Regions from separate parts of the Homo sapiens genome. Here region 1 is linked to region 2. The links are contacts of gene promoters, found by promoter capture Hi-C in human tissues and cell types (Jung and others, 2019). All regions are on one chromosome and are shown on one strand. The core of a region is centred on a gene start or on the middle of the fragment in contact, and the rest is flanking DNA. Distances in the headings are between cores, read along the strand shown.

Evidence for each region. Contacts are between HindIII fragments. The study calls those that stand out against the background at their distance.
Region 1: a fragment that was not itself captured here is called in contact with the fragment with the promoter of EPHA7 in region 2 in 1 of the 25 tissues and cell types used here (mesendoderm cells).

What each region holds. Positions count from the first base shown.
Region 1 is chr6:93,371,393-93,379,151 of GRCh38, forward strand. The region is part of intron 3 of EPHA7 (EPH receptor A7); the gene reads right to left. Among named protein-coding and RNA genes, the nearest start is that of EPHA7, 44 kb to the right of the region's middle. The HindIII fragment of the contact is 5,793 bases long and covers 1-4,271 here.
Region 2 is chr6:93,415,583-93,422,405 of GRCh38, forward strand. It overlaps EPHA7 (EPH receptor A7), which reads right to left and starts at 3,977. Exons shown (of 17, transcript NM_004440.4): 1 at 3,663-3,977. The coding sequence starts at 3,759. RefSeq lists a silencer at 4,025-4,224. The HindIII fragment of the contact is 11,378 bases long and covers 1-5,933 here.

The DNA.
Region 1 (7,759 bases), core at 125-2,624, 47 kb before region 2:
AAAAGGATGTGTATAGTTTATATGCAAATACTATATATGCCATTTTATATAAGGGACTTAAGCATCTGTGGATGCTGGTATCCAAGGGGATCCTGTAACTCACCCCCCTTGATACTGAGAGGCAACTGTAATGACAAGCGCTACAAAGTATTAGACTCAACACCTATGTGTGCATATATTTCAATCTGAAAGAATTTAGAAATTTAGAAGTGAAGTACTGTTTTCTCATAGGAAATGATGATAAAGTAAATGTATACATTTCCAAATAAAAATGCATTGAAAGTTCTTACAAAGGAAATGAAAAACTAGAATATAATGATTGATTCTACCTCTATATTAATGGTGCTATAAACGAATATGTATAGAGAGCTGATGGTACATTACATCTTCCTAATTAATTAGTATACATCATCCCAAAACCTGACTAAAGATTTGAAAATGTCAATTTATACTAACCAGAACACCAGAAATAAGGAAGGGAAAAAATCAGTTCAAAGATTGCACCCAAATGAAGTGGTTAAGAACATACAGGATAAAAGCAGATGACAGATTGTGAAGACATACTGTCACAGATGGATACCAGGTGGAATGGATCAGACAATATTTTTAGAATCAATTTTTTTTCAACATTTAAGTTAAATTACCCTTTTGGGTAAATGTTCAAAAGACTGATAAGAAAACTAGTTTTACATGCATCTAAATAAACAGAATATCTAAAAGCTAAGGGGTGAATGATTTATCTTTATATTACTTAGGAATAATCAAGCATTGTATAAGAACTTATTAAATAAACATTTGTGAGTGGATGAACACCAATGATAAAGGAGGTATCTGATGCTTGAACATTTCCTTTATGCTTTCATTTCATTTCACCATAATGAGCATACTACCTATGGCACAGCAAAACAAAGGGTAATACTTGCCAAATATCAGCAATTACAGAAAGGGGAGTTACAACCTTATAAGAGTATGACTATTCCTTTTGCCATTTTTCAACATGATTATTTTGCAGTTTAAGTTAGCAGCTGTTTAAATAAGAGGCTAGAAAGTGAATCTTCTCATGCTACAGATGTTAAAAGATAATGTCTAGACATAGAATCAATAAGGTTTTAAGGTTTTTGATTTTCCCAGACTGAAATCCTACTCTTATCATATATTAGTGTTGAATGCTATAAAATATTTCACAAAGTTAGAATTTAGAGAAAACAATTTTTAGCAAGATAAGATGCATTGCTTTTTGATTGTTATTTCCATTACATCTTTGCTTTATAAATTTTCCTTCTAAGTTATGGCCTCAAATGGCATAGGTTGTCCAAACTTTTAAATAGTTTTCTGTTTGTTGATGAAATGTGTTGAGTGACTAACTCAAAAGCATTGTGCTTGCAGCTATAACAGCCTAAGTGCTATTCAATATGGTTAAACATTCCACTTTTCACATGAAAAATATAATAGTTAAGTTTATACATTGGCTTTGCCTTAATATCTATATCATGATTTCATTAATTTTTTAGTAAATTACTTCTTCCACTACCTTTTTAAACAAAATTATACTAAAAGGAGATGGAGAATTCTGAAAATGTAGTACTTCCTTCTGAATTATGGTATATACTCTTACAATTTAGAGTGCATATGTCTTCAACAATTGTCAAAATAGTTGTCTGGATTAAAATACATACATTTTCTGTTCAAATATTTAATTGTGATACATGATTATATAACAGAAGATATATTTGTATTTTGACATATAGTCAATAATTATAGTAATATATCTTTGGAATTAACAGCTAGAAACCACTAGTTCTCTTTATATTATATTTAATTTTATTAAAATAATCACAAATTCTACTTTATTGCTTCAATATCAAAAGGGAAAAATTACAAAGTTAACAGACATCTCCAAGAGCAATAATTCTTGACCTTTTCTTAAAATCTAAATGTTCTGTGTAAAGTAATTGTTCAATAACTTGGTCATGTGAAAAAAAGACTTGAGTCAAGAACAGAAGCCCTGACTTATTAGAAATGGTGAATTCCATAAGGCAGGTCAGGGAAACTTGCGTGTAATTTAGTACTTTTACACTGCATTTCTTATATTCAATATCATTTGTGAAAATTGTATGGAATAGGTTCTCACTCTTGCCATTGACTTCTACTCATGATTCTCTGGAATCTGATATTTCATGGTTTTGCCAGTTGTTTACCATATAGGATTATCACACAGTATTATGTGAGACAGTTTAATTAGAGAGCTTAGATGATGGTATCAAGATTAGTAGTATTTTTAGCTCTCATGATTCACCAATATCTCCAAAGCTATTTCTGTAGAATGACAAAGGTTTATGCTCTATTTGTCACTCTTCTTTTTTTTTTCTGGTGTATTCTCTTTCGAATAATCACAAGCTTAACATAAGTGTGCCATTTACTAATGGATTAGTATATTGTTACATGTTTTACAAAAGGTAAAAAAAAAATCACTTCAAAGCTCATTTGACATATACTAGTACATAAAGGAATAAAGGCTTTCACAATATACCTCATGTTTCATAAATACATCAATTAATTTTCAGAGAAATAAAGCATAACACTACATAAATAAAAATGTATAACATGTCAGAAGAATTATTAAGAATGTAACAGAATATTAAATTCCTAACCAACAGAGAGCCTCAAAATAACATGAAGTCGCACTAGAGGTATTTAACCAGAGCTTTTAAAAAAAATATTCAGGTCAAATCTAGAGATAGTTCTATGAAGGAGTACACTATGTAGTGCTAACTCCCTGAAGAGAGTCATTACAGGTATATTTGCTAAATTTCTAAAACACGTCACCTCCTTAGTGAAGCCATATCTGACCTCTGGGTTAGGTAATTGAGTCCCTCATCTGTCTTCCCACTCCTCTATTTTAGCACTACAGACAAGAATAGAGATATGAATTTATATACATAGACAAATACTCTATGTTTCTATCTCTCTATCATCTATCTGTCTCATGCTGAGTACATTATACCCTCACTAAAATCTTGCAAGATCATATTTTTCTAACTAAATGTAGAAGTGTCAAATATATTACCTTTATATTTCACAGTTTAATCATTTTAAGTCTTCCTTTTAAGTGTCATGCCTTACTAGCGAACCTTTGACACTGCCAAATATGTTGTGGTTTTATGTATATTTATAGTCATTGTAATTTTATTTGCCAAAATAGAAGAAACTTGTATCTGTGAATGCATATGGATGGTTAAGAAAATAATTAAACAACAGTGGAGACTAGTCGCTCAGACTGCTGGCTATGGAGCCAAACACCTTGAGTTCAACTCCTGAGTTCAAGTGCTAGAACCATCATTAGATCACCAATAGGAAACTGCCTTGGTTTCCTCATCTGTAATACAGGAATAATAGTGACACTTTCCTAATAGGATCACTATGAGGATTAAATTAAAGAACAATGTAAGAGTGTTTGGCACACAGTAAGTAATTTACACATATCAGTTAATATTATCATCATAATTATTATAACATAGTGAAGAATATCATTTCAAAAAAGATAATATTGCTTCCTCCATAACATACAAAAATTTCTGAATAGTTTTTAACATTTTTGCAATCTGTTTAACTGCCTCATTATATAAACCATGTAACTAAATGTCTGAAAGTTTCAACTTAGAAATTCCTTTAATAATTTCAACAAGTAAGGAAACAATGTATACTGGATCCTTGAAAATAATATCATTAAAAAATATTCATTTGAAAATAAGCCTGTTTTCCTTCTGTTATTGATCTCCATAAACTTACTTTGTTTAGCATGTTATTTTGGTAGAAGTACAACTCTACCCTCCACTCTATAATGGAAGAAAGTATGCCAAACTCATGTTCCAATATGTGTAACTTGAAATGTAAAACCAAACAACAAAAACAACTTAACAAGACTGATAAAAACTCAGAGAGGCCAAGCATGGTGGCTCACACCTGTAATCCCAGCACTTTGGGAGGCCAAGGTGGGCAGATGGCTTGAGCTCAGGAGTTTGAGAAAAGCCCAGGAAACATGGTGAAACTCTCTTTCTAAAAAAAAATAAAAATAAAAAAAATAGTGAGATGGCATGTGCCTGTAGTTCCAGCTACTCGAGAGGCTGATGCAGGAGGATCACTTAGGCCTGGGACACAGAAGTTACAGTGAGCCTAGCAGAGAGACCTTGACTCAAAAAACAAACAAAAAAAAAACTCCAAGATTTGGAAGCCTGAATTAAAAAAAAAAAACAAACTCCTAATAGGCAGCTAGTATAGATAAAAAATTCACTAATCAAAAAAGTAATGAAAAAAGAATAGAGTTCTGTGAAAATATAACTTACATTTGAAGTCAGTTCATGCTTTTTCTTTGCTACCCTAAACAGTGATGTAAGTCTCTATACACAATTTGCTGTTAATCTGCTTCCCACCTAACCTAAGGAATCTGACAATTTTTCTTCTAAAGGCAACTAAGAAAAACAAAAGCTCCCATTTTCCTCATTCATGATCACAAAAGGAAAATATTTTAGAATTTCTTCCATTGTTATTTCTCCTATCCAGTGGGTCCACAGAACATTCATTATAAAAGATTTATGCCATGTGGACATGGCAGAAGATAGTCAGAAGGAGGTGGGGGTTGGTCATCTCATCATTAATGAGTCTGAAAATAATCAAGAGAGGAAGAGAGAGGGCACACTGCTATACTGTCACCAGTAATTATCAGGGGACACATTTTTTTGTGTGGGGTTTCATTTTCTTTTTCTTTTTTTGAGACAGGATCTCACTCTGTCGCCCAGGAGAAGTGCAGTGGTATGATCACTATTCACTGTAGCCTCAATTGCTGAGGCTCAAGTTCTCCCACCTCAGCCTCCTGAGCAGCTGGGACCACAGGCATGAGTCACCACACTGAGCTAATTTTTAACATTATTTTTAGAGACAAGGCCTTGCTATATTGCTCAGGCTGGTCTCAAATTCCTGGTGCCAGGCGACCCACCTGTCTTGGCCTCTCAAAGTGCTGGAATTACAGGCATAAGTCACCACGCCTGGTCCATTTTCATAAACCAATTCAGCACTGAAAGTCTGCCACCAAATAACTGACATGAATTCTTTGAGAACATAACTGATCATCATGATATATGAGAACAGAAGCAGAAGATGCTTCTTCCAACTACTGAAATACATGTAGCTGATTGTCTGGAAAATCGTGTCCTTCCCTTATAAAATAACATTTAATGTCTTCCGTATCAATGTATTTGAACAAAAATAAAGTAGATTGTATGCATAAATGCATACCCTGTAACGGAAGCCCCACATTTGAGGAAATGTAAGAGCTTTTTGACTCCTCAGCCCTGGGCTTCAAGTTAAAGATTTGGGCAGACTCAGGTGCTTTCTCCTTCCATCTCTGAGGAAGACCCTCAAAACATAAATTAATTGTCTTTCTTTTCTTAAGTTCTCATCACCTACTCTATTGCTCGGATGTCTATGTTTCCTGAGACAAGCAGCATTGCATCCCTAGCGTTCCGCATTCCTGGAAGTATCTGAAAGTAATCACCTTGATGCTTTACATTTTACATATAACCACCATGAGGAAATCAAAGATCCATAAAAAATTTACATGATAATTACAAGGCTCCAACACTTTACAAATTTTCTTATCTATGGAATATAATTTCTAACTCTCCAGTGCAATAGTTTTCAAATGAAGGTGATTCTGCCCTGTAGGAAACATTTGCCAATATCTGCAGACACTTTCCATGATCATAACTGGGTGTGGAGGAGGTCTGTTACTGGTATCTAGTTGGTAGACATCAAGCATGCTGCTAAACATCCTATATGCCTTCCATAACAAAGAATGATCCTGTACAAAATGTCAATAGTGCTACTGTTGAGAAATTCTGTTTTAATACAAACAGGTATCAGTTTTACTTCTAGGCTCCAGGTATGTCCTTGTAATAGAGCCCATCCTAACTAAACAAAATAAATAATGGTTATTGCTAGTTTTTTTTTCAAAATATTTAAACAAAAAAAACCATAATTTCATTAGAAAAGTTAGTTTCATCCTTTAAAATATTAGGTTTTCTTCAAAGTTCCCTAGATGATTTGCTTGGAAATTAACTTTGAAATAATTCTGTAAAATAAGAAAAAAGCTTTGAAAAACTAAAAAAAAAAATGTGCTACATAGATTTAAGTTGACAGAACTATTGTTATTTCCACCATCCCTTATCTTATATCAGTGTCCCTATTTCAAATTTCAAAAGGAAAACCAGAAGAAAATCTCCCTCCAAATTTGTCATTCCTTTAACAGCAGAAAACTTAAAAGTTTCTACTTTCTTCTACCTCTCATATCAATGTAATCAATTCCTGTTTGTTATTCTTTTGACCCTCTCATAACAGTAACTCTGTGTCAAATCGTTATCATACTTCACCTCATTCAGGATCCTACATTCCTGATTTGTTTCAGTCATTCGCTAATTCATTCAAGAAATATTCTGGGTACTTCTTATGTTCTTATTATGCTAAGAACTAGACCCCTTGTAGGAAGAAAAACAGACACAGTTCCTGCCCTCATAGACCTCTCAGTTTGTAGAAAGCCAATAATAAATTAAACCATTCTAATAAAGCATTAGGTGTTATGAAAGGAGATCACTGTAGAAACATGGACTCTTTGGTATAACTGAAACCTGCAGAAAATGTAAGAGATATTCAAGAGACTGGAAAGAGACAATTCATAGGCAAATAACTAATAGAGAGGAAAAAGATCATGGCACATCTAAGGCAATGATCATGGTGCCTTGAGGCAATGTCAAAGTGGCTGAAGTGCCAAATACAAGTGGAAGAGAGGCAAAGGTCAGAGCTGAAAAGAGAGACAGGAAAAGGAGGTAAGATGTTGTTTTTTCTAAGAGGAAAAGAAAGCTACTGAAGGGATTTTAAAAGATAGTGTTATGATAAGACTTGCATTTGGAAAGATTACTGTAGCCATGATGGATTAGCAAGAGGCAGAAAACTAACGGGAGGGCTTCGGTGGTAATGCAAGATGACATGTAAGAAGATGACGGCAGACTGAGGCAGTATGCATCAATTAGTTTAGCGGGAACTGGACATCGAGAAAATCTTTGAGAAGGGAAATCAAGAGATGTTTAACATATTCCCTAGTCTCTACTCTTATACTTTTCACTTATCCAGAATACATCAAGCAGATTCCATTTTAAAACACTGGAACTTAAAATGCAATTTGATTTACAATTGCAAGTAGGGTCCTCAAGCATCATATGAGATAGGCAAGACAAGTAAAGTTCCCACATTAGACAGATTACAAAAGTGGAGGCTCAGAGAGATTAAGTAACTTACTATATTTTGAAATATGACTAGGTAGTAAAAATAGGCTTAGAACCCAGTCATTCATTTCTGAATCCATTTCTGTTTCTAGTAAATTATGGTGCTTCAGGATTTAGAATTCTAGATTCTGGATTCTGCTTCTAAACTTCTGTCAAAGTCTTGTGTTATTTGGTGTGTACTGTACAATCTGGTACTTCATTACTGTCAATTACAATTTTCTAATCATTTCATAAATGTATACATTTTATTCACTAGCCATTCCACATAGAAATGGAGATGAAAAACACAAACATATATTGAATATGGCTGAAATGAATAAAATTATAAACAAGTATTTATATTAACATAAGTAATACAAGAAAAAGAAATACGTTAGCATTACTCAAGTAAAAATTATGTTACACATGGGATAGTTGGCACTATG
Region 2 (6,823 bases), core at 2,727-5,226:
TTCTATTTGATATATTTTATTTCTTTTTTGGACAATTACTCTTCTAAAGCACTCACTCTTTTGGTCAAACTGGTTTCAGAGTTACATAAGTTTTTGCACTTTAAAAATATTTATCTGACTCTACACCATTTTGACAAATGCATCAATTTGTCCAGAAATAATAGTGAATAAATTTTAAGTATGTCAATAGGCTTAACATCAGCCTCAGAAAAATGTTAAAATTTTTACTTAAAATACATGCTTATATGAACTTTTAATAATTATACAACTCAATCACTAGGGATAAAATATGTATTTGAAAGACAAAAATGTGTTATGATAAGAAAACAAAGGAACAACTGATTATCTGTTTAAAGGAACAGTTGATTATGTGTTTAATTCCTTCACACTAGTCAAAGTTACTCACTGTAAATGAAAATAGATATAGAGACCCAGGATTTTTGTTTTGTTGTTGTTGTTGTTTCTTTGTTTAGTGTTTTACACTTAAGACTCTCAGGGAGACTGACAGGAAAAAAAAAAACTTGATCAGAAACATTTGACTCCCTTTCAAATGAGAAACACACCCACAACACTTTCAAAATGCCAATTTGAATTTCAACTTGTAACATCGATAAATCGTTGGACTAGCGAATTTATATAAAAAGTAATTTTTAAAGTTTATTTTTATCCTCAACAACAGACATGAAGCACAGGGAAACAAGGTGGGTGGTCAGGTACTCTACTCTTTTTGAGATGCTTTCTTAATTTTTATTTTATTTTTCTTGTGTGCTGAATATAGACAACAGGATTTTAAATGCAGGTGACCTTCTTGGGTCATTTCTGAGAGTGAAATAAACATTGCGAGATTACTGTTTATTGCCATTCTGCTACCCCTCAGCTCAGCCTGGGGGTGGAAGCAAGGGACCTAAGCAGACAGCAGTGATGGCCAAGTTAAGAGAGAAACAAACTAACAAATTAAAACAAAACAGAACCCGGCCCGAGAACGTTTAATCGGAAGCCGCTCTCAAGTGATCCGTGCGTCTCTCTTCTGCTCGGTCCGCTCTCTGGTTAAACCCTCAAAAGAGCGCGTATCCCTTCCCGCTCGGAGCAGAGTGCCGACCTCCCTTTGCGCCCGCGGAGGCGCAGTCCCTCGGCTCACCCGGACGCTGGGGGCCAGGCCTAGGACTCCAGGGCTCCGCGCCCCGGAGTCCTGTGGGCCAACAGGTGATGGGAGAGGGGCTAGACTGGGGGCGCGCCCTGACAGACCCAGGCAACGACCGCGCGGGCAAAGGCTGGCGTCCCGGGGCTGGGGCGGGGCCGTCGGAGGGGCGGGGCGGGGGCTGCCAGACGGGCGCGCCAGCCGCGCCAAGCATCCATTACGCCTCTGCCAGACCTGGGCACTCCAGGGAGCCGGTGGCGCCCTCGCTCGAGAAGGAGTCGGGAAGAGGAGAGTGGCTTTCGGGAAGAGGAGAGTGGCTTTCGGGAAGCATCTCCTCTGAGGAAGAGGCGGCGGCGGCGGCGGCATTTACGGAGAGAAAAAGTAAGCAGCTGCACTTTGCCTTCAAGCGTCAGACTCTGACACGCGCTCCCTGTAGCGATGATAACTGACCAACCCGAGAGAACGTGCACAAGGAAAGTGAGGGAAGGGGGTTTCTTATCTTCCTCTAGCCACCCCCAAATGCCCCAGGAGGCCCGGCACCTGCTTCAAGCGGTTCCCAGCGCTAGCCCTTGGGTACTGCGGGCCGCCTCGGGGCTTGTGAACTCCTAGAACGCCAGCTCTTGGTCGCCGCTGCGCCCTAGAGGCGTCGCCGCCTAGAAGCCGGGCGCACTCGCCGCCCGCCAGCCACAGATCACCACCCTCCCTCCCATCACCCCCGCGCCTTTTATACATCACACTTCTGCATCTAAAGAATTCAGGCTCTTAGAATCAGAATCCTCTTCACGTAGCTTGCACCCAGAAGAGCAAAGAGAACTAGACATTCTGGCTGCAGGAACCTCTCCCCCTAGTGATGCAGTTATTTATAGCCCAAACTCCAGCCCGAGTCTGCGTGTGTTCGCGCGCGGGGTTTCGCCGCGGCGGTGCAAACTTTTCCTCTGGTCCGCTATTCCAGAGGAATCACAGTATGCCAGGGCTGAAGGTTTCTGATCGCTAACGTCAGGGGAGTAGAAATGTGGTTTTGGAGGGGATGAGCGTGCGTTTCTAGCAGATGTCCGTCCTTCTGCAAACGCGTAACCGCCAGCTTGGAGGCACGGGGTTCTCTGAATGGGTTCAGCATCTATACAGGTTGCAGATGTGGAAAGTGGGGTCAGAAGGTCAGGCTGAAAGAAGGACTAGAATTTGGCGCCGGGTTTGAGGGGGGCTTGAGCGAACTAAGAGGAGTGCACGATGAGAATAAAGAAAAGGTGCACTAAGTTTTCAGAAATAGATGAATCAAGGACCTATATGTAAGTCCCCTCAACACCCCGCCCGATAACCACCATGACCTAAATTTCATAACAGATTCCTCTCCCTCTACACATCAGGAATAAGTAATTATTTCTCTTCTGCTTTTAACAGATCGAAAAATGAAACTTAGATACACAGCCTGAAAGACCAGGGGGGCGACGGGATGAGGGGGGTTGGGGATGGGATTGTGACACTGCTCAAAAGCAAGAGACTTCCATTGACAGGGTTTATTTTTCCCCAGCTCCAACTACAGGCACCGAAAGGTATTTTACCTTCTGTCAAAGGTTCAAAGAAGGAAAACATAACCATATACAGGCGTATCTGTAACAGCTTGCCAAATAAAACCTGCCTTCTCCTACCAGAACCAACCCTCAGGGTTCAGGTCTTTGGCAAGGATTGGGCACTCGGATTCCTCAATTGCTGCACTATGGGGCAAATAATTGGGGACTTTGAGTCGCCCAGGCGGCATCCTTACAAATTGCACAGCTCCAGCCCGCCCCCTGCCTCCACGGCCCGACCAAGCCCGCTGGGCTGCCGCTGCCCCCATGACCGCTGGGCCCGACGCGCAGCGCGCGCTGAATGGAGACATCCCCGGCCCTCGGGTCGCGCGCCGCACGCCGCGCTTCACCTCCGCGGCGTTATTGTTCCGTGCTGGCGGCCGAGCGCCAACCGCAGGACCGCGCCGCCGCCTCCGACGCAGTGAGCACTTCATTAGTAACCCGAGCTTTCCGAGCTCATCGAAGTCTCGGTCCCTCTGGGAAGGCTCCGGGCTCCCGCCACTCGCCGGCGGGCTGGCGGAGACGGTAGGGGCTGCATTTCCCAGTCTCCAACCCAACTCTGGCCGCAGCTCCCACAGAAGGCGAATAAGGAGACAAGGAAGACCGAGCTAGAGAGAGATGTGACCCGCCTGAGGTACTAAGAAATAAGCTCGCCGGCAGTTCCTCCAACCCCACCCCACCCCCGTTGCTGCTCACGCCCTCCAGACTGCCCGCGCCAGAAATCCCGCACCCGTCGGATGGACGGCTCCGGGCACAGGGCTGTAGGCGGCTCGGAACAGCCCTGGTTCGCGCTCGCTGGTCCGCCAGGAGCGGCCTCAGCGGTGAGGGGGCGGGGAGCCGGCGGGGGAGGGTCGCCCGGCGCCGGAGGCGCGGCCGGCAGCGCCGCGGACGAGCTGGCTTGTGCAGGTAGACATCTAAATAAATAAGTCAGAACAAACTTTGCTTTCCCATCACCTTACCTTCCTTCGCAGCCTGCGCCTCCCCTGTGTGTGCAAAGCGGAGCAGCCAGATGTAGCATAAAATAATCCATGAAGGGTACCGAGTTTGAAAAACCATGGTGCATGAGCAGGTTTTATTTTAGGTTTCAGTTATCTTGAGTCGTGGATTTTTAAATGCTGTTTGTTCCGAAGTAGCTTTTGTTTTATTGTGCTCCTTGCATCGATTCCCCTTCTCGGTCCCCGATCGGCTGCTCCACGTTTAGCTTTTTTTAATTTCCCCCCCACTCCTGTTCGCTCGCACCGTGTTTGCTGCCTGCAAGTCTCCGACTGCAGACCGGCCGCTTGCTCCACACTCCAATAATATCAATTAGGGGGGGAGGGGGCGGGGCTCCGAGCTGAGAGCCTCCGCCACTCGGGCTGAGTGGCAGGCACAGCCGGCCTGCCAGGAGGCGATTCCCAGGGCCAAGGGGCGGGTCCCGGCGAAATGGCCGCCCCGGCCACGGGGGCGGGGTCCGAGGCAGGAGCCAATCGGTGCCGAGCGGAGTCAGGTTGCTGGTCCAGGATTCCCTCCAGGTTCTGAGCTCGCGCTGGATGTTCAGAGGAGAACGAGGATGGTAGCCGAGGTGTGTGCTGCTTTGGACGCTCTGCTTTTAGCAACCGCAGCTTTCGCGTAGCAGAATAAATCCGAGAATAACGCTCCCAACTTACACTCTTTTCTATAGCTGTACTCCGCGCGATCTTTTAGAAACCAGAGGCGAAGCAAGCCTTCTCTCAGCTACCAAGCACGGAGCCCGGACAGTGAAATGAGCTGTGCCTTTAAGTAAAGTGTGTTTTACTTTTTTGTTGTTAGAACCTCCGCGGGCTGGGTAACTTTGTTTTTTGCCTTTTTGAAAAGTTTCTACTTCTCTTTTTCTGTTACTCCAAGAGCCGTCAGTTTTAGGTACCACCCACCACAATCCCTGAAAGAATAAAGTAACCAAGTGTATTATGTTTAAACAATGTTTCCAAGAGTTTGCAACAAGCTCTGGCAAAAGAAACAGAGGAAAAGGGAGTGGGAAAGGAAGTCTTTTGTTTTAAGCGCCCCTTCTCCTCCGCCCTGTCTTTTCACCATAGTTTGTTGAGCGAAGTGAGACATTAGGAGAGAACCTTCTGATGGTTGCGTATCGTTTTTTTACGCGTTTATCATTTTCTAAGGTTTTCCTTGGATTGCCTCCACTTTGATAGTTTTCCATTTCGCTGCATAAATTACACTGAATTTTAAAGAATGCCACTACGTATTAAATTCATAAAGCAAGACCTTTCTCTTCGCAAGTATTTACCATTTTCAGGAATTATTCAATGCTTATCTTTCAAAGAGAAACTAAGAATAAAAAAAGTCATAACCAATATCTCCAGTTGAATTCATTCAACCCGAACGGCAAGGAAGGCTGCGTAGAGAAATCTGTTTTCCATTAGGCAGTTTCGGACACTTTGTATTCAAGAGGTAGGTAATAAGAGGAAGAACTTTAAAATTTTAATTGCCAAATCTTCAATTTCAAAGGTCACACAGAGTAACTTGATCACATGTTTAAGATGAATTTCTTTTTTTGTCCTATAATTTCTTCCTTTAAAAATATTTCTCAGTCATTTATGATTTCCTTTTATTTCCGATAGATCCAAAGTTTGATCTCACATAAGGCTCCAAACTTTTTCCAACCTTTCTATCTGGAAATATAAAGTAAATTGAGTTGTTTCTGCTTTTTATAGTAGGGAGTTCTCTAAGATGACAACCCCCAGATATTTATTTGTATTTTATGTTAAATTGTCTCCTGTAGTTTTTATTTGCCTAATAAAATAACATGGAAGAGAGATATGAAATTTATTCTTTAAACCTCTTTGATTCTGTAGTTTCTGAAACATTTCTTCAATGTTACATATTCCTAGCCATTATGCCTATTTAATATTTTAGAAAGTGTATCAAAAAGCATCTTCAGTGTCCCTTAAAGGATGCATAGAAAATGTAAATGCGTAATAGATTAACCTTAGAAAGAGACAAAAAAAAATATGGGGAGAACACACTTGTTATAGAGGAGATGAAGCTTTATTTACACAAATAGATGATTTAAGGATGAAACTTGTAAACTAAAACATAAGAGTTAAAAACATAAATCCCTGCACTTAGTCTTTAGAACTCACAGAACTACAAACTTACAAATATTAAACCACTTCTAATAGTTAAAACGAATTCTCCAGGATTTCAACACTTTCCCCAGGGTCTCATCCCCACTTCTTAAAATGACACCAAGGTGGCCTTTAAAGTTTAAAATATTCCTTTCATCTATTGAATGACTAATACTCAATGATGTGAATACAAATACTTTTCCATTAAAACCAGGAAACCAAAGAAGTAACATCCTTCACTCCTCTGATGAGTGTAGGTGGTATAGTGAGTCCTCTTTTTGTGTCCCTTCTCTCTGTCAGACACAGGGGCATGTGTAACTTTACTCTTATTTTTAGAGACAAGAAGCTTCACATTAAATGCACATGTGCCAGGCTGCTGACAGTTCTCCCTGCATAGCTGCACAGTGATACTGATTTTTAGGTTTTTCAAACTTCTCTTCTTTCTTTTGTAGTATCTAGATATATTGACAAAGAATTCGGAGCATTTAAATAAAAATAAATGACAGTCAAGAAGACAGTGTTCAGCATACAGTATATGATTAATATATAAATTTACACTCGACTGTATTTGACTAATGATAAAGCATATAGACCTATTTGTACATGAAGCCACTGACATAAAAATTATCAGTATACAAAACTTTCTCATTTTAAAATAACATAATGGTGAACTTCCTCACACCATTACAATTTATTTTAGCTTCATTTTATGATTTAAGCATATTATTTCTAATCAATTATTTTTAATAATGCGATGTGTTTGTATATAAAGTGAATTCAAAAGGAACTTGTCTTCCTGAGCAATACCAAATAGTGTATGAGACCAACACCTGTGCGCCAAAGCAATAATTCTGAAAACTAGTTTTACATTTTTATGCATTCATTGTACAACTAAGTTGATAGCGTCGTCCACATATATTTAGTGAATTTTAAGTAAATGGAAACAGAGACTAAGACCTTAATATTTCAATTTTATATCCCCTCTGTTGCAACATCTATAATAAATGTATAGTGGAAAGATG